Regions from separate parts of the Homo sapiens genome. Here regions 2 and 3 are each linked to region 1. The links are contacts of gene promoters, found by promoter capture Hi-C in blood cells and fetal thymus (Javierre and others, 2016). All regions are on one chromosome and are shown on one strand. Each heading gives the region's core, a stretch centred on a gene start or on the middle of the fragment in contact. The rest is flanking DNA. Distances are from core to core; before and after follow the strand shown. Region 1 holds the start of DYRK1A (dual specificity tyrosine phosphorylation regulated kinase 1A). Region 2 overlaps KCNJ6 (potassium inwardly rectifying channel subfamily J member 6). Region 3 overlaps KCNJ6 (potassium inwardly rectifying channel subfamily J member 6).

What was found. The method cuts DNA at HindIII sites, captures the fragments that hold promoters and counts their contacts. A CHiCAGO score of 5 or more calls a contact.
Region 2: a fragment that was not itself captured here is called in contact with the fragment with the promoter of DYRK1A in region 1 in 1 of 17 cell types (endothelial precursors); the score reaches 5.1 in endothelial precursors.
Region 3: a fragment that was not itself captured here is called in contact with the fragment with the promoter of DYRK1A in region 1 in 1 of 17 cell types (endothelial precursors); the score reaches 6.0 in endothelial precursors.

The regions. Positions count from the first base shown.
Region 1 is chr21:37,364,639-37,368,153 of GRCh38, forward strand. DYRK1A (dual specificity tyrosine phosphorylation regulated kinase 1A) reads left to right here and starts at 2,135. Exons shown (of 12, transcript NM_001347721.2): 1 at 2,135-2,990. RefSeq lists enhancers at 671-1,596, 1,128-1,207, 2,521-3,445 and silencers at 1,348-1,527, 1,558-1,867, 2,448-2,597, 2,788-2,867, 3,108-3,247 and 1 more. The HindIII fragment of the contact is 3,979 bases long and covers 781-3,515 here.
Region 2 is chr21:37,636,299-37,640,249 of GRCh38, forward strand. The region is part of intron 3 of KCNJ6 (potassium inwardly rectifying channel subfamily J member 6); the gene reads right to left. All of the region lies in intron 1 of KCNJ6-AS1 (KCNJ6 antisense RNA 1), which reads left to right. Among named protein-coding and RNA genes, the nearest start is that of KCNJ6-AS1, 120 kb to the left of the region's middle. The HindIII fragment of the contact is 2,611 bases long and covers 208-2,818 here.
Region 3 is chr21:37,669,605-37,673,458 of GRCh38, forward strand. All of the region lies in intron 3 of KCNJ6 (potassium inwardly rectifying channel subfamily J member 6), which reads right to left. The region is part of intron 1 of KCNJ6-AS1 (KCNJ6 antisense RNA 1); the gene reads left to right. Among named protein-coding and RNA genes, the nearest start is that of KCNJ6-AS1, 150 kb to the left of the region's middle. The HindIII fragment of the contact is 972 bases long and covers 1,691-2,662 here.

The DNA of each region.
Region 1 (3,515 bases), core at 885-3,384:
ATATTCTGTTCAGGTTACCTGGAAGATTAACTATACAAGTTTCTTCCATTACCAGGAATAAAAATTTGAGTCAAATTTAATTTAGTATTAAAGGTTGCAAATGCTGATGTGCTCTGATAGAAGCGAAAGCTTGGTGAATGGGGTGGGATGGGGTGGGGGCAGGAAGGAGACCCACAAGCAGAGAGGAAGAAGTTGGTTGTATAGGTGGAAGCTTGAGCTTGGGAGGAACCAGGTAGGGACCTCTCCTCTGAATAAGGGGCGCTCTGGGCCACTTCCTCTTTCTTCAAAACAATTAAGTTGACCGTGGACCTTAATCACACTAGCAGGGCAATTTTGAAACAATAATCCGAAAGAACTTTTGCCAGCTACGGCAACTTTTTTATATCATGGAGATCAGCCTGAAAGCAAGCTATTTGCCCGACCACTTTTTGACCAATTTATTTTCGGTTTAGTCAGGTTTCTTCCAAGTCTGTGCTAATCTGAATGGTTACCTTAGTAATTACTTTTTGACTAATTTATTTTCGGTTTAGTCGGATTTCTTTCAAAGTCTGTGCTAATCTGAATGGTTACCTTAGTATATCAATGTCCTAGTAACTGTAGCAAGGACATTTTTGCTGGAAATCATTTAAAGCAGGTGTATTTGAGTCATGTAGCATAGACAGCGGCATTTACTGCGAGTTTTTTACATCTAATATTGTTTATAAGATTTTATCTGTTGTCACATTTGTGAAATTTATGAAAAAAATTGGTTACGAACACTATCACAAGGTGGCAAAATCAAGCTTAGAAATCAATTAGTGACTCTGCTGTAAAATAGTATATATATACACACACACTCTTTTTAGGTATACATTTATTAAATGCCATTAGAGTTGGTACAAAATACAATTTTTAGCTGGTGGCTCTCTACCGATTACAACGCAGCCAGCACAGCATACTTGGGTTTTCAAGCCTCGGGAGCTCACCCAGCAATACATAGCTAGGGAGAAGGGGTAGGGAGAATAAAAATCAGCGAAAGCCAGGATATTAATAAAGAGTTTTGATGGTTAAGGACAAGCAGGCGAATTAAGACTCTGGAAACCGAGAAGGTGTATAGAAAAGAAAACCAGAGAGCTGGACGACAAGGACACAGTAACAGCACAAGGGGATTCATCTAAAGGGCATTCCGATGGAGCAGGCAGGCTGCGCCCCGAAAGGTGGGGAGAGGTTGGAAGCAGATGGGCAGGCACAGGCGAGCGTGCACTGCCTGAAAAAGTTTTCATGATGGCTCCAGCCTAATTTCCCAACGCTGGTCTCGGGCGCCACAAAACCTGGGCGGCCCGACCGGAGCCAGGTGCCAGCCTCAGGGCCGCCGGGCCCGGCGCAGCGTCCGGAATTCCTGCGATGTCTGGGGCGCGGCGGTGGCTCCTCCCCGCCCCCACCACGGCCTCCGCCGGCATTTTCCGGCTAGGAGGCCCGCCAGCCCTTCGAAGAACCGGCTCCACGCGCGGACGGTCGCGGCCGCCGCGCTTCCCGGGGAGAGAGGCGAGCGCGGCGCCCGGACCGCGGTGAGAGCCCTCCAGGCCCGGGCGCGCGGGGTGGGCTTCCCGGGTCCCCGCCCGAAGGCCGCGGCGCCCCTCCTCCTCCCCCTCCCCCGCCCGGGGCAGCCCGCCCCTCCCCCCGGCGCGGGCGGGGCTGCGGGCGCCGACGCGGAAGCGCGGGGCGCTAGGGCTGCGGGGGCGGCGGCGCGGGAGGCCGCGCGCGCTCCCCGGGCCGCAGTCGGCGCGGGCGCGGGGCGGGGCGGGGCGGCCGGGAGGCGGCGGGCGATCGCGCACAGGCCTGGCCGCCGCCTCGCCCCCCCTTCCCCAGCCCCTACCCTCCCTCGGCCTAGCCGTCCCCCTCCTCTCCCCTCCCCCGGGCGAATCACGCGCCCTCCTCTGACACTCGTAGCGGACCCGAGCTCCGAATTTATCCTTCACGTGACCTGAGGGGGTTGGGTGGTTGGCTGGGGACAGAGGGGGAGACGGAAAGGAGGGAACGGAATCTGCCGTTACCTGAGCAACAGGCCCCGCCCGCCGGCTCGGGGCTGGGGGGCGGGAGGAGGACGTCAGCACGTCAGCCGGGGTTTTGCGTTTTGATTGACAGTTGCTATAGCGACCGGGTCGGTCCGTCGCCATTTTGTTGGTTGGTTTTTTTTTAAACCCTTTCGCTTCCCGCCCGAATAATAATAAAAAGCCCCATTGGAGTGAGGCGGGGGTGGCGGCGGCAACCGCGGCGGGGGTATCCGGGGAGACTGCTGCTGTCGCTGCTGCTGATCGCGGCCCAGGTCGGCCTCAGAGAGCGGACACCCCGAGCGGGGGGTGCGGGCGCCGCCGCCGCCGCTTCTGCTGCTGCTGTTCCTGCTGCTGCTGTTGGTGCCGCTGCCGCCGCCGGCGAGCAGGCGGGACCGGTGTGAGTGCGAGTGTGTGTGCGAGGGAGCGTGTGCGAGGGCGATTGTGCGCGCGAGTGTGCGGGTGTGTGCGAGTGTCTGTCTGTCTGTGCGGGGACTCGGGGGCGGGCGGTTCGGGCTCTCCTGGCGGAGGAGCCGCCGCCGCCGCCCGGGCCCCGGCGCTTCTCGCTGCGCAGGTTCGGAGCGCGCGCCATTTTGTGAGATTTACAAAATCCTCCTCGGGAAGAAGCCGCCGGCAGCAGCCGCCGCTCGGCGCCCGGCCTCGCCGACGCCGCCCTCTGCGCCGGGCCGGCCGTGCGGCCCCGCCGCCTGGAATCGGGGCCCGGGGACTGCGGTATTTGCCGGGGAGGGGGCTGTCGCCTCCCCGGCCCCGGGCGCCGCTGGAACCGCGAGCCGAGGAGAGACTGAGCAGGCTGCGGCGCGGCCAGGAGCCGGAGCGCCGGGGGCGGAGAGAGGCTGCCGGGGCGGCGCTGGCTGCGGAGGCCGCGGCGGGAGCGCGGCGCGGGAGCCCGAGGCTGAGACTCACCGGAGGAAGCGGCGCGAGCGCCCCGCCATCGTCCCGGTGAGTGTCCGGCCCGGCCGCGGCCCCGCCCGGCCTGGCGCTCGGCTCCCCCGGCGGCCCGCAGCCGGGCCGGAGCCGAGGCCGGCCGGGCGGAGGGAGGGACCTGCCATTTTAGGAGGAGGCGCCGCGGGCCCAGGGCCGGCCGCCGGGGGAGGGAGCCTCAGGCCGGGTCCCGGAGGAGCGGCGGGCGCGAGCGGAGGGAAAGTTGCGGAGGGTGGGAGCGGGGGCCGCGGCCTCCCGGGAGCCGGGGCCTGGGGGGCCGTAGACAGCGCCAGACCTTCACTGGCCGCCCGAGCGAAGGGGTGGAGGTTGTCTTCCTCCTCCTCCTCCTCCTCTTCCTCCTCATCCTCTTCCCCCAGCTCCTCCCTCGTCCCTCCTCTCGGTCCCCACCAGTGTGGGAACCGCCGGGGTGATTCGCAAGGACAATGCACGGGTTAAGAAAATGGGGCCGGCTGCCGGGTGGGCGAGGACGGCGGGGCCGGGCCGGGCCGGGCGCCGGCGAAGGTCGGGAGCCGCTGCCTCGGC
Region 2 (3,951 bases), core at 263-2,762, 270 kb after region 1:
GTATCCCCAGCGCAGTCAAACTGACACGCAAACTCACCCAGGACAGGAAGGCTGCTTGATTTCCACAGTGTTGTCTGAACTAAGTTATTTCTCCAAAGGGTGTGTAGGAGTGTGCGTGTGTGCGTAGCTTTTAACAATTATTTCATTCCGCAGTTTCTCCACTGAGAGCTTCTCTGTCTGGATGCCTAGTTATTCTTCCAAGAGTTAAGCTTGCAGGGACATGCATGCAAACAACCTGTCTTTGGGTGGCCGTTTCATTCCCAATAAGACCATGTGAGAAGGAGAGCTTGGAGGGGAAGGGAGTGCGTGTTACGGGTGGTGATTGCAAAGCTCACTCTGCCTAGGATCCAGGAAAACAGACTGAAACATAGCTAAGGAATGTGCCATAGGCACTGAGCAAACACAGGGGCAGGCCCTGCAAGATGGAGATTTAACAGGCAAAGCCCTATTTTTAGATCCTGTGACAAATTATGGTGGGAGAAGTTTGTGTGCAGAATACCAATATGATGAAAGTCATCCTCATGAGAGAACCCCCTGGACAAAGCCAGAGGTATAGTCAATACATAGACAATACATGAAAACAGCCTGGAGGATATGATTCCAATAAAATTAGATGGATACAAACCACTCTCACCACTTCTGAATACTGTAAAATGAATCTGTATTGCCAATATTCAAAAACAGAACTGATTGTAGACACTTAACCATTTTATTTCAAACACCAGGCTACATAGATGATGTTTTCCTTTTCCTTTACTCCTGTGCCCATTCTCAATAAGAACTGTGCTGAATCAGTGCAGTAATAAAGTGTTGTGCACTTAGAAGTCAGTGCTGGGTCGCTTTTCATGTGGGAGAATGATGTTGGTGATTAACCAAGCCCAGTGTCAAAAAGAAGCAGGATAGTGTGATTTCTGGCATAATCATGGTTTTAGTTCATTAGGTTTTGCCAACTGCCGAACATTTAAATAACGATGAGCCCTGCCCTAGGCTCAGGTTAAAAATCCCTTCAATGAACAGTTGTGTTTCTTCTATTACCCAAATATTAGAGGGCCAGTGAGGGTCACCTCCAGTTATGCAAAAACAAATGGAAGTGTGGATTTTTAAAAATGTCTAAAAAAGATCCTACATGTGTACTCCTAATTCTATTCTCACCAAGGTCATTGATAAGTGTATAAATTAAGTATTGAATTAAGTAAGAAATGTTATTTATTGAGTGTTTACTGTGTGCTGGGCTCAGTGTGTGCTCGGTGTGAGCCAACCATCTGGTCCCTGAAACAGTCTTCTCAGACAGATGCTATGATCTTATGTGTGAGCAAACTAAGGCAAAGACAGATTAAGTAACTTCTCTGGGTCACATAGTGCTGTGGATTGAATATCATGCCCCAAAATTCATATTCAAAGCCCTGACCTCCAATATGACTGTATCTGGAGAACTGGCCTTAGGGAGATAAGTTAAGTCAAATGAGATCATAAGAATGGGTATCCTTAAGAGGAAGAGACAACAGAGCATGTGTACGCTCTTTCTACATGCACACAGAAGAGGCCGTGTGAGGACACAGCAAGAAGGTGGTTGTCCTACAAGCTAGGCAGAGAGCCCTAAGCAGAAGCCAACCCTGCTGACACCTTGATCTTGGACTTTCAGCCTCTAGAACTGTAAGGAAATACATTTCTCCTGTTAAAGCCACTGAGTCTGGTATGTTGCTGTGGCAGCCTAAGCAGACAAGTAGGTACAATAGGTAGTGGGGTGAGGGTTCTCATTTAGGAGGCCAAGCTCCAGAGTCTACGCTGTCAACCACAACACTATTATTTCTACATTTGAGGACAGAGACCACATGTTAATTTTGATCTTGATTTATTTTTATTTTTAAGATGGAGTCTCGCTCTGTTGCCCAGGCTGAAGTGCAGTGACGTGATCTCAGCTCACTGTAGCCTCTGCCTCCTGGGTTCAAGTGATTCTCCTGCCTCAGCCTCCCAAGTAGCTGGGATTAGAGGCGTGTACCACCATGCCCTGCTAATTTTTGTATTTTTGGTAGAGATGGGGTTTCACCATGTTGGCCAGGCTGGTCTTGAACTTCCGACCTCAGGTGAGCCACCCTTCTTAGCCTCCCAAAGTGCTAGGATTACAGGTGTGAGCCACCGCTCCCAGCCATAAATTTTGATCTTTATAACTGCTATAGTGTCTTACACCTAAAGATTGATAACATATTTTACAAAATAAAATGGAGTGCAAATGAATGATCATAGCCAAAGGCATTCTGCACACCAGCACCTGGCCACCATTTGTCCCAAATTGCCACTCCCTTCTGCCTACCATTTCCACCCTCCGCTAGCTTTCCTTTTAAGCCTGTCCATTCTTACCTCATCTTCCACACAAATGGTGTTTATTCTCTGCCCAAATCTGGGGTCCTGGCTACCATCTTCAGAAAATTGCTTGCAGACACCAGGCAACCTTCATTTACTTTTAAGAAATCACGAGATAGCCCCAAATCAAATCTCAAACTGCAGGAAACTTCTTCAAATTCTCCCATTCTATATTTGTATCTTCCTCCTCCAACAGTAAGAATCTGAATTCTCAACAACCTGTATATGTAGGCTCTCTCCTACAAAACATACAAAACACTTTCGGAACGGTCACATCCTTAACTCTACTGAGGAATTGCTTATGCAAGACTCAGACCTCACAGCTAAGGACCAGCAATTCCTCCAGTTGAAAAAGAAAATCCCATGTCACCTTATTTAGCCTGAGGGCTCCCAATAATGTACCAGTAGGTGATGGACCAATCACAAACTGCCCAATGCACTTGAAAGCCAATCAGAAAGCTTCCCTACTTCCAAAAATTCTACCTAATAGAACACTCACCAAGCAAAGATTATTTGTCTTAAGACTTCCTTCTTTTACTCTATAAAACCCACCCTCCTTTGATTTTTCACTAGGAGGAAAGTGATGGTAGCAGTCTTCCTTGTATGATCTCAATAAATAGCCTTTTGTTAATTCTACAGATGCACTTTGCCCTTTTGATACCAACAACTACAAACCTCTGAGGTAAAACTAAAAATTGCTTGCAATTCTTTTAAATCCTAGAATATTCCCACGAGGTTGTACAATCAAAACACTGTGTTCAAAAGTTACCTGAACTATTTTTTTTTCTATGTGGTTATGTTATCCATTGCATAAACAGTTAGGTTCCTTTGTTTCTATTTGTGTTTCCCTTTAGGGTTTGCTTTTGTCATTCTTTTTCTATTTTGTTTTTAAACTTGTAAGCCATTTAAATGGTTCAAAAATTTAGTCAGCACAAAAAGACATATTCAGAAAAGTCTCATTCCCATCCTAAACTCCTTCTGCCCACCTCCAATGTGAGGTCATTTTTATTCATTTCTGCTAGATCCTTGATATGGTTTGGATTTGTGTCCCTGCCCAAATCTCATGTTGAACTGTAATCCTCAATGTTGGAGGTGGCCTGGTGGAAGACGACTGGATCATGGAGGCAGATTTTCCTCTTTGGTGCTGTTCTCATGAGATTTTGTTTAAAAGTGTGTGGCATTTCCCTGACTCTCTCTCTCTTCCTCCTGCTCCAGCCATGTAAGACATACCTGCTTCCCCTTCCCCTTCTGCCATGATTGTAAGTTTCCTGGGGCTTCCCCAGAATCTGATGCTATCATGCTTCCTGTACAGCCTGCAGATCTGTGAGCCAATTAAACCTCTTTTCTTTATAGATTACCCAGTCTATAGCAGTGAAAGAATGAACCAATACAATCCTTCCTGTGTCTCCTTCTGTAAAAATAAGCAAAGCAAACATATATGCATACACGTTCTTGTTTCCCAGTCTTTTCCCATGGAAACAATGTTTCAGAACAAGAAACTGAATAATAGGTTCCTTCTGCTAAAGTAATTTGAAATCACTTAATGCATTCATTTCATTTTACAGAGCACAGTCTCCTCAATGAAGCCTA
Region 3 (3,854 bases), core at 927-3,426, 310 kb after region 1:
ATGTGCATATGCATCTCTGCTATAATGCAGGGATAAAAACAACAATGCTTTGGACATTTTCATGATGCTGAATCTACTGTTTGGAGCTTACAATAAGGAAATATGCAGAGACTCTGAAATGTCTTCACAGAATTGTAGCTGGAATAACATGGTTAAGATGGATATTCAAAATATTTGAAAATAATTTGAAAATATTTTCTCCCATTCTGTATGTTGTCTTTCACTTTCATGATAATGTATTTCAATGCATACAAGTTTTTTATTTTGATGAAGTTATATTTATATTTTTCTTTTGTTGCCTGTACTTGTGGTGTCACAGCTAAGAATCCATTGATGAATCCGAAGTCATGAAGATTTACCCCTGTGTTTTCTTCTAAAGAGTCTTACAGCTTTTGCTCCTCTATTTAGGTCTTGATGCATTTTGAGTTTATTTTTGCAAATGTATGAGGTAGAGTTTCAACTAATTCTTTTGCATGTATATATCTAGTTGTCCCAGCACCATTTGTTGAAAAGAGGATTCTTTCCCATTAAATGATCTTAGTGTCCTCATGAAAGTCAATTATTCTAAGGTGTGCAGGTTTATTTCTGGACTCTAAATTCTATTCCACTGGTTTAGATGTCCATCCTTATGCCTTATATTCAGTCACTGCTTTAATTACTATAGTTTTATAGTAAGTTTTGAAATGAGGAAGTGTGAATCTTCTAATTTTGTTCTTTTTCAGCATTGTTTTGGCCATTTGGGGACCCTTGCATTTCCATATGAACTTGAGGATTGGGCTTTTTAGTTCTGCAAAATGGCCATTGGAATTTTGGCAGGGATAACATTAAATCTGCAGATCACTTTGGGTAGTACTGCCATCTTAATAATATTAAGCCTGGGCTGAGTGCAGTGGCTCACACCTGTAATCTCAGCACTTTGGGAGGCTGAGGTGTGCAGATAACTTGAGCTCAGGAGTTTGAAACCAGCCGGGGCAACGTGGTGAAACCATGTCTCTCCTAAAAATACAAAAGTTAGCTGGGCATGGTGGTGCATGCTTGTAGTCCCAGCTACTTGGAGGGCTGAGGTGGGAGAATTACTTGAGCCTGGGAGGCAGAGGCTGCAGTCACCCAAGATCGTGCCACTGCACTCCAGCCTGGGTGACAGAATAAGACCCTGTCTCAAAAAGACAAAACAAAACAAAGCAAAAATAATATTAAGCCCTCCAACCTATAAGCACAGGATGTTATTCCATTTATTTAGATATTCTTTCATTTCTTTCAGCAGGACCTTATGATTTTCAGTATATGAGTTTTCACTTCCTTGGTTTGAACTTAGGTATTTTATTTCATTTTTTGGATGCTATTGTCAATGGGCCTGTTTTCTTAATTTCCTTTTTGAATTGTCCATTGCTAGTGTATTGTGATATTGTGAAATATATATTTGGCCTTTATCCCATTTCCTGATACATAGCTCCTAAAACCACTAGAATCTCTGGAGTGTTAAGAATGTCTTTTGTTTGCTACTGAGATGACTGGCAGCTGCAGACCTCTAGATAGCTTCCGGGTGGGGGCTGGCCACCTGAAAGACCATGGCATGATTAGAAGGTTGAGACTTTCGGTCCCACCCCCAACCTCCAGGGAAGGGAAGGGGGTTGAAGGTTCAGTTGATCACCAATGGCCAATGATATCATTACTCATGCCTACATAATGAAGCTTCCATAGAAAAGCAAAAGGACTGAGTTCTGGGGGCTTCTGGAAAGCTGAACACATGGATGTTCCTGGAAGGGGTTAACCCAGGGAGGGCGTGCCCCTCTTCTTGCCTCTTCTCCCACACTTTGCCCTGTACCCTTCTTCCTTCTGGCTGCTCATCTGTACCCTTAATTATATCCTTTATAATAAATGGGTAGGTGTAAGTAGAGTGGTTCCCTGAGTTCTGTGAACTGCTTTCGCAAATTAATTGAATCCCAGGATGGGGTTGCGGGAACTCCCAATTTACAGCCAGTTGGTCAGAAGCACAGGCCACAACCTGTGCTTGCGACTGGCATCTGCCGGGGTGGGGCAGGCTTGTGGGGCTGAGCCCTCACCCTGTGGGATCTGACACTGCCTGCAGGTAGACAGTGTCAGAGCTGAACTGAATTAGGGAACACACAGGGGTGTCCACTGGAGAATGACCTGCAGCACTGGTTGTTGTTGGAGAAACCCCAACAGCCCTCTGGAGTCATGGAAGTGTTATCTGTTGTAAGAGTATAGTACGAGATGCGGAGTTTGTTTCTTCCTAGGTCCTTATGTATAGAAATTCAACATTTTTTTTTGTGTTGATCTTGTACTCTACAACTTTTCTGAATTTGTTTATTGGCTCTCGTAGTATTTTTGTGGATTCTTTGGGGTTTTCTCTGTATAAGATCATGTTATCTTTGAATAGAACTAGTTTTACTTCTTTCCAATTGGAATACTTTCTGTTTCTTTTTTTTACTTAATTGCTCTGGAGGGAATTGTGTCTTGACCCATTCTCTACCTGTAGTCTAGGAGGGATTGACCCCATCTCTTAAGGGTGATCCCTGCTTGGCTTAAGCAAGTCCATAGAGCTCATCTGCTTGTCCCCAGTGATTGGGTCGGAAATGGCATATGACCTCCTTAAGGACAATGAGATGCAAAGAAATATAGCTTTAGCTTCTAGGAAGGAAGCTTCTCTTTTCTGTGGAAGCTTCTGGAAGAGATCCTGACTCTTCTGCTTGTGAGAAGTTGGGGCCTGAAATGTGGTGGACACTTCTGCTACCATGAAAGAAGTAGTCTAAGGATGACGGTGATGCAGAAGGAAGGGAAAGCAGGAGACCTGGAGAAAAGGAGCTGGGTCTGGGGGTCATCTCAGCGCCTAGGAACCGGCAGCATCGGAAGTCCTCTCCCCCTGGGTTTTTGGTTGTATGAGCTAAGACATCCTCAATTTTTTTTTCTTTTTTCATAAGTCAGTTTGGGTTCTCTGACATCTCTTTTTACTTGAAAATGTTAAAGTTCAAGATACATGGTATATCCTTAGCTTAGTATAAACTTATCAGCTATGGTTGTTTCACTTGGACTTTTTACCTAATCAAAAAGGAAATAAAGATGTAATACACATGTAAGGAGATGGTAGGTTTTTCTCTCTTTCTCTTTTTCTCCCTTCCCCTTCCCTTCCCTTCCTTTCTCTTTCTTTCTTCTCTCTCTCTCTGTTTTCTTGAGATAGGATCTGGCTATGTGGCTAAGGTGGGAGTGCAGTGGTACCATCACAGCTTACTGCAGCCTCGAACTCCTGGGCTAAAGTGGTCCTCCTGTCTCAGCCTCCCAAGTAGCTGGGACTACAGGTGCATGCTGCTGTGCCCTGTTAATTATTTTATTTTTTGTAGAGACAGAGTCTTGCTACATTGTCCAGGCCAGATTTTTCTTTTAAGTGTGGTAAATGCTATAAAAGTCTCCTTTTTACATTATTCTCAAAACGTTTTTAATGAGCAATAATATTCATTATTGAATGCAAAATGAGAGAGAGAAAACAAAGGAGGAGAAGAAGAATTGAGAGGAGACGGGGACAGGTAAGACAGCATGAGGGAAAGAGGAGTGGTGGAAATGGAGCAGAGGCTGGAGGAAGAGGGTTGGGACCTGAACCATCTCTAGGGCTATGGCCGATAGGCCCAGGGGCAGCCTGCTGGAGCTAGGGAAGTGGGTGGTTGTCCATCAGCTTTCCTGGGTGGTCCCATTACTGGGAGGCTTCCATCTCCAGCTGGACTGTCCTGCAGCTTCCTTTGGCTGGGCTGCCCCTGTCCCCTCCCCCTCTTCCAGTCCTGTTTCTTTCCAGGAGCCGGCTCCTTGGAGCTCATCCATCCTCCTTCCTGGGGCTCCAGGCT